Regions from separate parts of the Homo sapiens genome. Here region 1 is linked to region 2. The links are contacts of gene promoters, found by promoter capture Hi-C in blood cells and fetal thymus (Javierre and others, 2016). All regions are on one chromosome and are shown on one strand. Each heading gives the region's core, a stretch centred on a gene start or on the middle of the fragment in contact. The rest is flanking DNA. Distances are from core to core; before and after follow the strand shown.

Evidence for each region. The method cuts DNA at HindIII sites, captures the fragments that hold promoters and counts their contacts. A CHiCAGO score of 5 or more calls a contact.
Region 1: a fragment that was not itself captured here is called in contact with the fragment with the promoter of GCLM in region 2 in 2 of 17 cell types (neutrophils and naive CD8 T cells); the score reaches 6.8 in neutrophils.

The regions. Positions count from the first base shown.
Region 1 is chr1:93,305,229-93,312,568 of GRCh38, reverse strand. CCDC18-AS1 (CCDC18 antisense RNA 1) reads left to right here. Exons shown (of 9, transcript NR_034089.1): 9 at 961-2,460. Among named protein-coding and RNA genes, the nearest start is that of CCDC18-AS1, 37 kb to the left of the region's middle. The HindIII fragment of the contact is 3,233 bases long and covers 2,354-5,586 here.
Region 2 is chr1:93,905,562-93,912,748 of GRCh38, reverse strand. GCLM (glutamate-cysteine ligase modifier subunit) reads left to right here and starts at 3,319. Exons shown (of 7, transcript NM_002061.4): 1 at 3,319-3,711. The coding sequence starts at 3,586. LOC124904221 (a long non-coding RNA gene) reads right to left here and starts at 3,157. Exons shown (of 2, transcript XR_007066230.1): 1 at 2,595-3,157. RefSeq lists an enhancer at 2,796-2,955 and silencers at 2,996-3,235, 3,446-3,805, 3,856-3,905. The HindIII fragment of the contact is 5,335 bases long and covers 2,581-7,187 here.

The DNA of each region.
Region 1 (7,340 bases), core at 2,721-5,220, 600 kb after region 2:
TCACTGCAAGCTCCGCCTCCCGGGTTCACGCCATTCTCCTGCCTCAGCCTCCTGAGTAGCTGGGACTACAGGCGCATGCCACTATGCCCAGCTAATTTTTGTATTTTTTTTAGTAGAGATGGGGTTTCACCGTGTTAGCCAGGATGGTCTCGATCTCCTAACCTCGTGATCCGCCCGCCTCGGCCTCCCAAAGTGCTGGGATTACGGGCATGAGCCACCGCGTCCAGCCCCCTTTAGATCTCTTAATGTTTGCTTTATATACTTGGGAGCTCCAATGGTAGGTGCATAGATATTTATAACTGTTATATCCTCTTGCTGAATTGACCCTTTTGTCATTATATAGTGACTTTCTTTGTCTCTTTTTACAGTCTTTGATTTGTAGTCTATTTTATCTTTTAAGTATAGTTAATCCTGCTCTTTTTTGGTTTTCATTTACATGGAATATCTGTTTTCCACCTCTTCACTTTCAGTCTATGTTTGTCTTTATAGGTGAAGTTGTGTTTCTTTTAGGCAGAATATAGTTGGGGCTTGTTTCTTTATCCATTCAGCCACTCTGTGCCTTTTAATTGGAGAATTGAGTCCATTTACATTCAGTGTTAATATTGATAAAGACCTACTACTGCCAATTTATTACTTGTTTTGTAAACTCTCTCTTCCTTTCTTATGGTTTTCCTTTGTGGGTAAATGATTTTCTCTGGTAACGTGTTTTAATTTGTTGCCTTTTATTTCTCATGAATCTATTATAGGTTTTTGTCTCGTGGCTACCATGAGTCTTCTAAGAAAACATCTTATAGATACAACGAAAGTTATTTTAAAGGGATTATAATTTATCTTGTCACAAAAAATGCTAATAGACAAAAAAAGAAAAACAAAATCTCAATAATTTAATTCCATGCCCCCTACATTTTAACTTTATGTATTCTCTATTTACATATTTTTATATTTTCTATCTCTTAACAGGTGGCTGTAGCTACCTTCTGCATATGGATATCCAGTTTTCCCAGCACCACTTATTAAAGAGACTGTCTTTTCTGCAGTGTATATTCTTGGCACCGTTGTTGAAAATGAATTCATTGTAGGTGTGTGGGTTTGTTTCTGGGTTCTCTATTCTGTTCAACTTGTCTATGTGTCTGTTTTTATGCCAGTACCGTGTCATTTTAGTTACCAGAGCTCTGCAGTATAATTTGAAACCAGGTCATGTGATTCCTCCAGTTTTGTGGTATTAGGATAGGTTTGGCTATTCTGAGTCTTTTGTGGTTCCATATAAATTTTAGAATTTTTTTTTTCTATTTCTGTGAAGAATGTCATTGGTATTTTGATAGGGATTGCGTTGAATCTGTAGATTGCTTTGGGTAGTATGGACATTTTAACAATATTCATTCTTCTAATCCATGAACATGGAATACCTTTCCATTTTTTGGTGTCCATTTCAATTTCTTTCATCAGTCTTATACTTTTCATTATAGAGATCTTTCACTTCTTGGATTAACTCCTATGTATTTAATTTTACTTGTAGCTATTGTAAATGGGATTACTTTTTTTTTTTTTTTTGACGGAGTTTCACCCTTGGCATCCAGGCTAGTGTGCAATGGCGCAACCTCAGCTCACTGCAACCTCCACCTCCCAGGTTCAAGCAATTCTCCTGCCTCAGCCTCCTGAGTAGCTGGAATTACAGGTGCCCGCCACCACACCCGGCTAATTTTTGTATTTTTAGTAGAGACAGGGTTTCACCACGTTGGTCAGGCTGGTCTTGAACTCCTGACCTCAGATGATCTGCCCACCTCGACCTCCCAAAGTGCTGGGATTACAGGCATGAGCCACCACTTCCAGCAAGGGATTACTTTTTTAATCTCTTTTTCAGATTTTTCACTGTTGGCATATAGAAATCCTACTAATTTTTGTATGTTGATTTTGTATCCTGGAACTTTACTGAATCTGTTTATAATTTGTGTATTTGTTTATAGTAGTTTTTTGGTGGACTCTTTCAGTTTTTCCAAATATAAGATCATATCATTGGCAAACAAGGACAGTTTGATTTCTTCTATTCCAATTTGGATGCCTTTATTTCTTTCTGTTGTCTGATTGCTCTAGTTAGGACTTCCAGTACTATGTTGAATAACAGTGATGAAAGTGGGCATCCTTGCCATGTTCCAGATCTTAGAAAAGAGGCTTTCAGTTTTTCACCATTCAGTTTGATACTAGCTGTGGCAGCTTCCATGAGAATCACGCAGTTTGAAGAAGCATTTCACTGAAAAATAGGGATTGCTGTTCTGGAAAGACAAAACAATTGTCTACAATTCTAAAGAAGAAGTGAACACAATAATTAAATCAATGTTATTCTGGGTCTAAAGCTTATATTCTTAATTACTATATTATCCCATCTTAAAATTTTAATTTGGAAATTATATATCTAAATATTATAATCAATAAAGTTGAACACACATGATGAAGTGTGAAAAGAAGTAAAAAACAGATGTGTGAAATGATTCCATAATTATTAATGTGCTTATGTTTCAAAGAGTTTTCACAACCCAACAAAACTTACCCTCTCTGGGGCCTTTGTAAAAACAAACAACAACAACAAAAAACTCATTCTCCATTCTTCCACCTGCTCCACAAAACAAAAATGCATCTTATTCACCTTAGAATCCACAGGTACTTGGTAGAGGCTCAAAAAATGTTTATTTAGTAAAACCAAAATGTCTTCCAAAAAATAACAATAGTTCTTTTCTTTTTCTTTTCTTTTCTTTTTTCTTTTTTCTTTTTTTTTTGATACAGAAACTCACTCTGTCACTCAGGCTGGAGTGCAATGGCACGATCTCGGCTCACTGCAACCTCTGCCTCCCGAGTTCAGGTGATTCTCCTGCCTCAGCCTCCCGAGTTGCTAAATTACAGGTGCTCAGCACCACACCCGGCTAATTTTTCTATTTTTAGTAGAGATGGGGTTCTGCCATGTTGATCTTGCTGGTCTCGAACTCTTGGCCTCAAGTGATCTGCCCACCTCAGCCTCCCAAATGCTGGGATTACAGGTGTGAGCCACCACGCCCGGCCAAGTAACAATATTTCTGGATATAATACCTGAAAACTCAGCGCAGAAAGATATAAAGGGATAAAAAATTTATAATATAGTCATTACAATGGAATAAAATGAAATATAAAGCAATAAAAAGGAACGGACAGCTGATATATGTAACAATATGGATGAATCTCAAAAGCAATATCAAAAGATCAAAAGGGTATATATTACATGATTCCATTCTGGAAAAGGCAAAACTATAGGGACAGAAAACAAGTCAATGATAGGCAGTGGGCCGGGGGGGGAAGTGATTTATTATAAAGAGGCATGAGGAAACTTTAGGATGACATAAATGTTCTATGTCTTTATATGGTGGTGGGTACATGACTGTATACTTTTGACAGAGGTATATCTAAAAGGGGTGAGTTTTACTGTGTATAAATTATACCTCAATGAACCTGACTAAAAAAAAAAAGATGTAAAAATCTTAATATAACACTCTTTGTTAATTTACCTAAAATACACCTATTAATTTTGAAGTAAATATCAGAGAATTTCACAGAAGCTATAAAAGCAATTGTCCTGCCATTAGCACAGTCAAATAATCATTTAACTATAGCATTTCAAAGATACAGTTAATTCTAACTATTTATTTGCTATTGTTTTTGGGAAGAACATTTTGTACATGAAAAGGAGGTGAGAAATGAGATATGGGCTTTAATTTGGGAGAAATACATGGAGCTAGGAAATGGAAAGGAATAAAAAAATGAGCTTTCTTCTATGAAAGGTACTTAAGGGCTGGGCGCAGTGGCTCATGCCTGTAATTCCAACAGTTTGGGAAGCCGAGGTGGGCAGCTCAAATAAGCTCAGGAGTTTGAGACCAACATAGGCAAAATGGCAAAACTCCATCTATACAAAAAATACACCAAGCGTGGTGGTGTGTGCCTGTAGTCCCATTTACTTGGGAGACTGAGATGGGAGGACTACTTGAGCCCAGGAAGCGGAGGTTGTAGTGAGCCAAGATGGTGCCACTGCACTCCAGCCTGGGTGACAGAATGAGACCCTGTCTCAAAAAAACAAAGAAAGAAAAGAAAAGGTACTTAATATCTTCAAATATTCAAGATCTGAATGAGAAAAATGTAATTTTAGGTCAGGTGTATATAAAAAGTATCCAGCAATTTCATAGCTACTTATCTTCATGGACTGTTTCCTTGGTTGGTTATCTCTGTCACTGTTCATATCACACCGAGGGTTGTTACCTGCTGGCTTTCACATCTTCCTGTTCTTTCACTCATTGACTAGACTTTTCACTCATTTAATCACTGTTTTCAAACATCTCTATGTGCCAGACACTGGAGTAGAGATGCAAGGGTGAGTAAAACACATGAGATCCCTGCCCTTTCATTACATTTAATGAGAAGAGAGACAAAAAAAAAAAGTGGATACTTTCAGATTATGTTAAGTGTTATGAAGAAATAAAACAGGGTAATGGGGCTCAGAATGACTTTGCAGGTGAGAGATAGGTGGCTGGAATATTTTAGATAGAATGGTGAAGGGATCTGAGGAGACAATTTGTACTGACAGCTCTGGGAAGTGAACAAAGAGAAGGAGCCAGCCATGGGAAGAGTTCCAGCCATAGGAAACAATAAGAGCAAAAGCCTGAGACAGAAATGCATTTGACATTAAATGAGAGGGCTGTAAAGCAGGCCTATGTGGCCAGGGTGCAGTGAACAAGGGGAGAGTGGTAGGAAAGCTATGCAGGTCTTAGAGGCTTTGGAAAAGAGCTTCAGTTTTTTTCTAAGAGCGATGGAAAATTATCATAGGGTGTTAAGTAGGGCAGAGATGTGGTTTTGTTTTTAGAAGGCTCTCTGGCTTCTCTAATAGTGGGCAAGAAGATAAACCTGGAAAATAATTAGATGGCCACTGCAGTCATCCAAGCAAGACATGATGACTTGGACTAGGGTGGTAGCTGTCACAGTGGTGAGAAGAGGTTTGATTCAAGTTCTTTTTTACATATGGGGCTGAAAAGACTTGCTGATGGATTGGTTTGAAGGTGGTGAGAGGAAGTACTAGGTGAGTGGGGATGCTTTATTCAAGATGTACAAAACTGGAAAAGGAGAAATTCTGGAAGAAATTCTAGAGAAAAGGAAATTCTGGAAAGACCAATAATTTTTCTCAGTCTTGTTACATTTGAGATGCCTTAAGAAATACAAGTGGAGATGTGAGAAGGCAATTAAATATTCAAGGAGATTAGGGGGGTTGAGTAGAGGAAGAAGTAACCAAGAAGAAACACCAGTGAAATAGGAGGAAAATTGAGAGCATATGGTTACAGAAGCCAACTACAGAATGGATTTTAAATAGGAGGAAATGGTCACCTCTGCCAAATTTAGAGTGGTCAGATAGGAGAGGACTGAAAATTGACATAATCTTTGGCAAGGTCAAAGTCACTGGTGACAGATCTGGTAAATATTATTTCAGCAGATGCAATGAACATATAATTGGAGTGGGTTGAACAGAGAAAGAGAAGTTAGAAAGTAGAGAGAGCAAGTATAGGCAACTCTTGATAAGCTTTACTGTGAAGGCATGCTGAGATAGAGGGCAGAAGCCAGCAAGGATGGAGAGTCTAGAGAGAGTTTAGTCAAGCAAGACAATACTAAGGCATGATGCAGAAAAGAGGACACATAATGGCAGGAGTGAAATCCTCAAATAGGCAGGAGGGCATGGGATCCAGAGCCCTGGAAAGGACAACCTCATTGTGAAAGGAGGGAGAACATGTATTCAGATTCAGGTAGGTTGGTAGATTCGATGGTGGGAAGATATAATTACTGCCTGAGGCTTCTGTTCTTTCAGTGAAGTGTAAATTGAGATCACCAGTTGAGAGTGAGGAAAGATGAAGTGTTGGAGGTTTGAGGAGAGAGGAGATGTGAAATAAATAACTTGGAGAGTCAGAGATAATGTCATATTCATATTTGTATCCCAGCATCCTACCACAGTGCCTGGCACATAGGAGGCACTGAAAAACAGTTTTGAAGAATGACTGAAAGTCAGAATCAGAAAAGAAAGAACAATGATACACACTTAAAACTTACATCTTAATACAAGAATAACATATTTGTAGAATATCTTGGTTTATAAATGTTTTAGCATCTACTTGAATTTACTCAATAAATTCCAGAATACTCGAGGAAGGAGGCATACTTGCAAAAGGTAATTTAAGACAAGATGACCTCTTTACACTTTATTTACAAGAGCACCTTTCTCATTAGGCTGATTTTTTCAAGAGTAAGGAGATGCTGTCTTTTCATCTTAATATTCTCAGGACATGCATTAAATAGTGCCTGGCACAAAATTAAGTGCACAATAATGCTTTTTCGGTTTTTTGTTTGTTTTTGAAACAGGGTCTTGCTCTGTCACCCAGGCAGGAGTACAGTGGTGTGATCACAGTTTACTGCAGCTTCAACCTCCTGGGCTTAAGTGATCCACCCCAGCCTCTCAAGTAGCTGGGACTATAGGCATGTGCTACCATACCCAGCTAATTTTATTTTTTGTAGAGACGGGGTCTCACTATGTTGCCCAGGCTGGTATCAAACTCCTGGGCTCAAGCAATCCTCGTGTATCTCCCAATGTATTAGGATTACAGGTGTGAGCCACCACATGGGCCAGTAATGCTTTTTTGAATAAATAAATGACTATAATCACATGGAGCTTCTAATCTCCAAAGGATTTACAGGCTGAAATAGAAAAGTCTCCAAAAGAATTTAAATACTTCAGGGATGAAAAGCCAAAGTGGATTGATTATAAAGACAAACAGATGCTTTAGGGACATTTTAAGGGAGTCACAATATGCAACCAAACATTTCCACAAAACTTTCTTTGTAACATTGTTTCAAGAATAAAAACCTAAATGATTTTGGGTCTCACTAGCATGGCAATTTTTATATTTGTTTGAGTTTATAGGCTCTTTTGACCTTTTCTCTATAGTAGTAATAGATTTTTGTCCTTTTGCCTAACACTGTGCATTATAGTGAACTACATTCCCAGATACCTTAGAATCACCCATGTTTATCCCTTTCCTCCTCTAGGAGGGCTCTGAGAGATTTCATTTCTGTCCTGCTGATGAAGTCTACGTTCATTCAGGGCCTGCTGTGGAAGACCAGCCCCAAAGGTGTGTTATACTAAGTAGGCAGATTCTATCTCCATCTAATTCCTAAGTTAGGCTTTTCTTACTCCTAGAGTTCTGTATAGCATGGCCTTCTTATTTCTTGTAACATTGCTTTTGGGAATAAAATGTTTGAAGAAAGGAATATAAAGAAGAAAAAATGCT
Region 2 (7,187 bases), core at 2,070-4,569:
AAGTTCTGGCCAGGGCAATCAGGCAAGAGAAAGAAATAAAGGGTATTCAGATAGGAAAAGAGGAAGTCAAATTGTCCCTGTTTGCAGATGACATGATTGTATATTTAGAAAACCCCATCATCTCAGCCCAAAATCTCCTTAAGCTGATAAGCAACTTCAGCAAAGTCTCAGGATACAAATTCAATGTGCAAAAATCACAAGCATTCCTCTACACCAATAACAGACAAACAGAGAGCCAAATCATGAGAGAACTGCCATTCACAATTGCTTTGAAAAGAATAAAATACCTAGGAATCCATCTTACAAGGGATGAGACGGACCTCTTCAAGGAGAACTACAAACCACTGCTCAACAAAATAAAAGAGGACACAAACAAACGGAAGAACATTCCATGCTCATGGATAGGAAGAAACAATAGTGTGAAAATGGCCATACTGCCCAAGGTAATTTATAGATTCAATGCCATCCCCATCAAGCTACCAATGACTTTCTTCACAGAATGGGAAAAAACTACTTTAAAGTTCATATGGAACCAAAAAAGAGCCTGCATTGCCAAGACAATCCTAAGCAAAAAGAACAAAGCTGGAGGCATCATGCTACCTGACTTCAAACCATACTACAAGGCTACAGTAACCAAAACAGCATGGTACAAAAGAGAGATACAGACCAATGGAACAGAATAGAGGCCTCAGAAATAACACCACACATCTACAACCATCTGATCTTTGACAAACCTGACAAAAACAAGAAATGGGGAAAGGATTCCCTATTTAATAAATGGTGCTGGGGAAATTGGCTAGCCATATGTAGAAAGCTGAAACTGGATCCCTTCCTTACACCTTATACAAAAATTAATTCAAGATGGATTAAAGACTTAAATGTTATACCTAAAACCATAAAAACCCTAGAAGAAAACCTAGGAAATACCACTCAGGACATAGGCATGGGCAAGGACTTCATGACTAAAACACCAAAAGCAATGGCAACAAAAGCCAAAATAGACAAATGGGATCTAATTAAACTAAAGAGCTTCTGCACAGCAAAAGAAACTACCATCAGAGTGAACAGGCAACCTACAGAATGGGAGAAAATTTTTGCAATCTACCCATCTGACAAAGGGCTAATATCCAGAATCTACAAAGAACTTAAATTTACAAGAAAAAATCAAACAACCCCATCAAAAAGTGGGCAAAGTATATGAACAGACACTTTTCAAAAGAAGACATTTATGCAGCCAACAGACACATGAAAAAATGCTTATCATCACTGGTCATCAGAGAAATGCAAATCAAAACCATAATGAGATACCATCTCACACCAGTTAGAATGGCAATCATTAAAAAGTCAGGAAACAACAGGTGCTGGAGAGGATGTGGAGAACTAGGAACACTTTTACACTGTCAGTGGTAGTGTAAACTAGTTCAACATTGTGGAAGACAGTGTGGTGACTCCTCAAGGGCCTAGAACTAGAAATACCATTTGACCTAGCGATCTCATTACTGGGTATATACCCAAAGGATTATAAATCATGCTACTATAAAGACACATGCACAGGTATGTTTATTTTGGCACTATTCACAATAGCAAAGACTTGGAACCAACCCAAATGTCCATCAATGATAGACTGGATTAAGAAAATGTGGCACATACACACCATGGAATACTATGCAGCCATCAAAAAGGATGAGTTCATGTCCTTTGTAGGGAATGGATGAAGCTGGAAACCATCATTCTGAGCAAATTGTCGCAAGGACAGAAAACCAAACGCTGCATGTTCTCACTCATAGGTGGGAATTGAACCATGAGAACACTTGGACACAGGGTGGGAAACATCACACACTGGGGCCTGTCATGGGGTGGGGGGTTGGCGGAGGGATAGCATTAGGAGAAATACCTAATGTAAATAACGAATTAATGGGTGCAGCAAACCAACATGGCACTTGTATACATATGTAACAAACCTGCACATTGTGCACATGTACCCTAGAACTTAAAGTATTATAAAACAAAAAGTATAGACAAATCTTATTCAATCTTGAGTTCAGAAGATAGTTATATCGGGTTTCATTATAGTATTCTTGCTATTTTTGTATATGTTGGAATTATTTACAACAAATGTTAATTGTATGTTACAGTGCATCAAAATGTGTTTAAGTAGTGGTGGTGCTTGTGGGTAGCTCTTTCACTATAATAAAAAATCAATATCCAAAAAAAAAAAAAAAAAGCAGCGCAAGCTCGTTCAATGAACTCTTACCATCATTCATTCAGCCAACAAATATTTACTCAACATCAGGCTCAATTTCTAACTTCCTAGAAAGATCTTTTTTCCCATCCCTCCCCTAATTCTTACCATTTTACCAACTGGTTCATCTCTCTTTTCAATAGCTATATTGTCCCCGCTTATAATGAGAATCTCATTTTGCCTTTAATAATCTGATTCACCTCAACGAATGTGAAAGATTGTTGAGGAAAGCTCAATACATGTTCAATTTGATGTTTATACCGAGTCCACCACCACACGTGAAATTTAATAGGGGTAAATAATCTCGACCACCTCTAAAGGGGTGGGTGATAAAAGCTTTCTGTGATCTCACCGGCTCAAGTGTCCTCTTTAATCTGAATTCATCTGGAGAATAACTGCCCTATGATGTTCTTATAAAATTACTTGTTTCCTGTGCTTAGAACTTGTCTCTGGGTAGAGTGTACGCGTCTCAAGGGCAAAGACTCAGTCTTGTTCGTTGACTTCACACACTGCCAGCAAATAATGTGAATCAATAGACCTTTAACGGATGAAGAAAAATTAGCAGTTTGGGAGAAGGTCCTTGAAGGTAGCAAAGCGAAAAGAAGAAGGGGGCGCTTGCGCATAAACAGCTGCTTCTGAGAACGAAAACTACGTAGCATTTCCGAGTCCCGGTGGCCGCTCAGGCTGCCCTTTAAAGAGACGTGTAGGAAGCCCACCCTGGGGCGGCCGTGGGCGGAGCCGCGACCTGAACGCCGGGAGACCTCACCAGGCGGAGGCGGTGTCTACCTCACCAGGCGGAGGCGGTGTCTGCCTCGCGCTGTCCTCTGACCGCCAGGGGGAGCCCTGCCGCGCGCTGCGCTCCGGGCCGCGCCGCCACGCTCTCTCGACCCGCGCGCCCGCCGCGCACCACCCGTCGCCACGCCCGCCGCAGGCCAAGGGCCAGTCACTTGCGGGCCGGCGTCCCGCAGCCCATTCGCGCCCCGCCCCTGCCCCGCCGCGGGATGAGTAACGGTTACGAAGCACTTTCTCGGCTACGATTTCTGCTTAGTCATTGTCTTCCAGGAAACAGCTCCCTCAGTTTGGAATCAGCTCTCCCGCTGCGGCCGCAGTAGCCGGAGCCGGAGCCGCAGCCACCGGTGCCTTCCTTTCCCGCCGCCGCCCAGCCGCCGTCCGGCCTCCCTCGGGCCCGAGCGCAGACCAGGCTCCAGCCGCGCGGCGCCGGCAGCCTCGCGCTCCCTCTCGGGTCTCTCTCGGGCCTCGGGCACCGCGTCCTGTGGGGCGGCCGCCTGCCTGCCCGCCCGCCCGCAGCCCCTTCGCTGCGCGGCCCCTGGGCGGCCGCTGCCATGGGCACCGACAGCCGCGCGGCCAAGGCGCTCCTGGCGCGGGCCCGCACCCTGCACCTGCAGACGGGGAACCTGCTGAACTGGGGCCGCCTGCGGAAGAAGTGCCCGTCCACGCACAGCGAGGAGGTGAGCGTGGCGACACTCGCCGCGGGGCTCCCGGGGCAGGCCTCGGGCGGGGCCGGGCGGTTCCGGCAAGGGAGAAGCGCCCGCGGGCGAGGGAGGGTGGCAGGGCCTCGCGCGCACCTGGGCTCCGCCCGCGGTCAGATGCTGAGGCCAGTGTCGACGCGACCTTGGGTCCAAACCCGCTGCCGAGGGCAACGCGTCTAAAAAACTTAGCCGGTGCAGCTGCGCACTGAGTGACACCTCTCTCGGTGCTTAAGGCTGGTAGCAAAACTCTCAAACATCCTGGGTCCCTCTTCCTGGCACGGAGGTCACAGAGGGCCAGGACGTCGCTCCGTCTCTCTCCACATCTCTCGCTTCCTTCCCCCACCCTGTCCAGGTAAAGGAATATTTTCGGAGATTATCCTTTGGTGCATTCAGATGAAGTAGTATTCATAGTACACCTAACTTTTAGAATGTTGACATTAGACTCTCTATTGCAGTGAGGCAAATGAGTAAGCACTCAATTTTGGCTTTGGAATACCCTAAATACCCTGACTTTAGTCATTACACATTTTATGCACTTATCTGTGCGTCTATGTATGCTTTATCAGTACACATTCTATGCATGTAACAATATCATTGTACATTCTATGCATGTAACAGAATATCACATGTGCCCCATAAATATGTACAAATATAATCTATCAATTCAAAAATTAAAGTTTTGTAAAAACTGGAAAATAAAAAGACTAGTCACTAGTTGGAGGTGACAGAGATTAATCTGGAATTACAAACTTGTTACCTATTTGTTGGCCATTTCTGAGCGGATAGTCATCCACTGCACATTGTGCATATTGGTGGTATGGGACAATTTTAGTATTTAAAAAATAACAAAATCTTTAGATTTAGGAGCTATATGACTTTGGAAAATTACTTTAAAGTTGGATAATAACACCTTCCTCATCAGGTTGTTGTGAGAATTAAGAGGTAATATATGAAAACGCTCACCATGCAGGCATCTATCTCCCTGTCATCTGGTTCCATCAGAAAGATAAATCTTAATTAAGAGAAAAACCTTCCTAAACTATGTGTGTTTAGAAAAACCTTCCTAAATCAGCTGTGTTCCTAAGTGGTTTCTGCTCTCTTCTATGAGATGTTGGTAACAGACCATGCAGCAGCACACGGCATCCCTCTGAGTTAAGTGCTGGACCTGTGCCCAGGCCTGTTGTTGGGGTCAGTGCCCATCAAGAGATGAGAACTCTTGCTTGTAACTTTAGTAGGAATCTGAGTCTGTACCATATTCTGTGTTCACGTTCCAGCTCAGTGTGTATGTTTTGTTTTATTTAAACCACCTACTTTGGCTGTTTCTCCCACAGATAAATATTTCTGTATTCGGTACATAGACTCTTAATTTCTTCCAGTACTGTTGGTGGTAGTTCAATACAGAATTTTGCACGTATATTGATATTATTGGGTGAAATTTTACCTATCTCACAATAGCATACTCTAAAGTAGTGACTCAAAAGAGTTTCTGACTGCAAACACAGTAAGAAGTACATTTTACTTTGCAATCCAGTTAATAGTTGTATAATCAGTATATCTGAAACAGGTTTCACAAAAAGATATTAGCCCTTATACCGTATATTCTGATTTTTTCTTTTATTTTAATTTTTAAAATGTTGATTTCTTGATGCTCAGAGTCACACACCACAGTTTGTAAAACATTGTTCAAAGGACTAATTCTGGTTTCTAGTGTTTTATTTAGGGTGCTTCATAACAGTAGGATAAAACTAAAGAAACTAGAAAACATTTCAGGAAAACTTGAAGGAATGGCATCATACTGTAGGGAAACTATGACTGCTTGGTAAGAGCAAAAGGGGAGGCACATTTTGTTTCTATGTAAAAGAACTTTGTAACACCCAGAGCTCCAAATTGGGATGTACTACTTGGAACAGTTCCGCTTCACTGAAGAAATTAAGTAAACTGAACAAATCACTTATTTTTGAGAAAATGTACGTGTTGGGTCAAGAGTTCAGTTAAATTTCTTACAAGGTCTCTTCTAGTTCTAATTTTTTAAAAAATGTTATGACCTCTGCCCAGATTTTTTGTCTCACTGGAATTTTATGAAATCAAATAGTTTGTAAGTGGACCATTATAGGACTGTTTTGCCCAGTTCTTTGTTGTAAGGGTGTTTGACCGGTTGAATCATGGTATTTAAAAAATTCTTATACAACTCCAGATCTAATGGTAGGCTAAGTTGTGGTGATGCTTATACTCAGTGATATTGGGTGTGTATTATAAGAATGAAGAGAGCGGAGAACAAACATAAACATTAATGTTAATGACAAACATTAACCCAAGTACAAGGTTAATGTTTAGTCAATATAGCAAACATGTAATTTACAAGATTAAAAATAATTAGGCTTGTGATAAAGTCAATGAATTTCCTACGTAATTGTAACATTAGACTGTTTTATTATTTGTCCTGACATTTTGCAGAATCCAAGATTAATTAAAGAAATGGTTTCAAGAAGAGGGTGAATACTATAAAAATAGACTTACCTTCCTGAATTGAGGAATTCATCAGGAAAGCCTCAAGTGTGCAAATGAGCCATCCTTCCAGAGGGAAATTTCTTAGAATTATCCCACGATTTGAGCCAAAGCACTTCCGATAGAATTTTTAACCTCTAGTTGGTTCTGCTCCTTCCATTTTTACTAATTTTTAAGAAAATACTATGACTTATAATTGTATCTGGAATGATTATCAACTCCTTTTCATCCACTGACTTAAATTTGATTATAAATATGCTTTACATAAAGATCTAGACCTTATAATTTGAATTCAAGTGAATTGTTGTGACTAGCATGTAAATTATTATTATGGATTGTAAATCTTAACATAGGTAGTTCTGTGCCCTTAAATTGATAAACCAGTTATCTCTTGTAATCATGTGTACTAAGATATACGTAGTAAAGTGATTGTATCAGTTTTTATCATAAGCAGTCATAGTTCAGATAGTTCAGAAGTTTAGTGTCTGCTGTTTCTATTAGGAAAGTGCTTTTGCAATTCAGGGGCTTGCCTCTAGTTACTCATTTGTGTTTTCATTGATTGCCCACAGAAGAATGCAAAACACTGTGTCCTTGGTTATCTAATAAGGCAGTGATTTCAGATTGCCAGGTTTGGCCCATTAGTGGTCATAAATCAGTTCAGTGAGTCATGGACCAGTATATTTTTTCTAATTAATATATTGGAAGCCATTAGAGTGCCTGGCATGTTGTGAGCATAAATACCGCTTTATGACTGTTTTGTTCCATTATATGTATATAGGTCTTTGCTCACTATGTGAATGTATGTCTTACTTTGGACTACTATCAAATAAGTCTGAAATACACTTTAATAAAGTATGTTTGAATTAATTTACAACATACTATAATATTTGTATAAATTTTTTTTTGTTTATCTAAGAAAACATGGAAGATAGGTTAGAGGTGCACCTAAA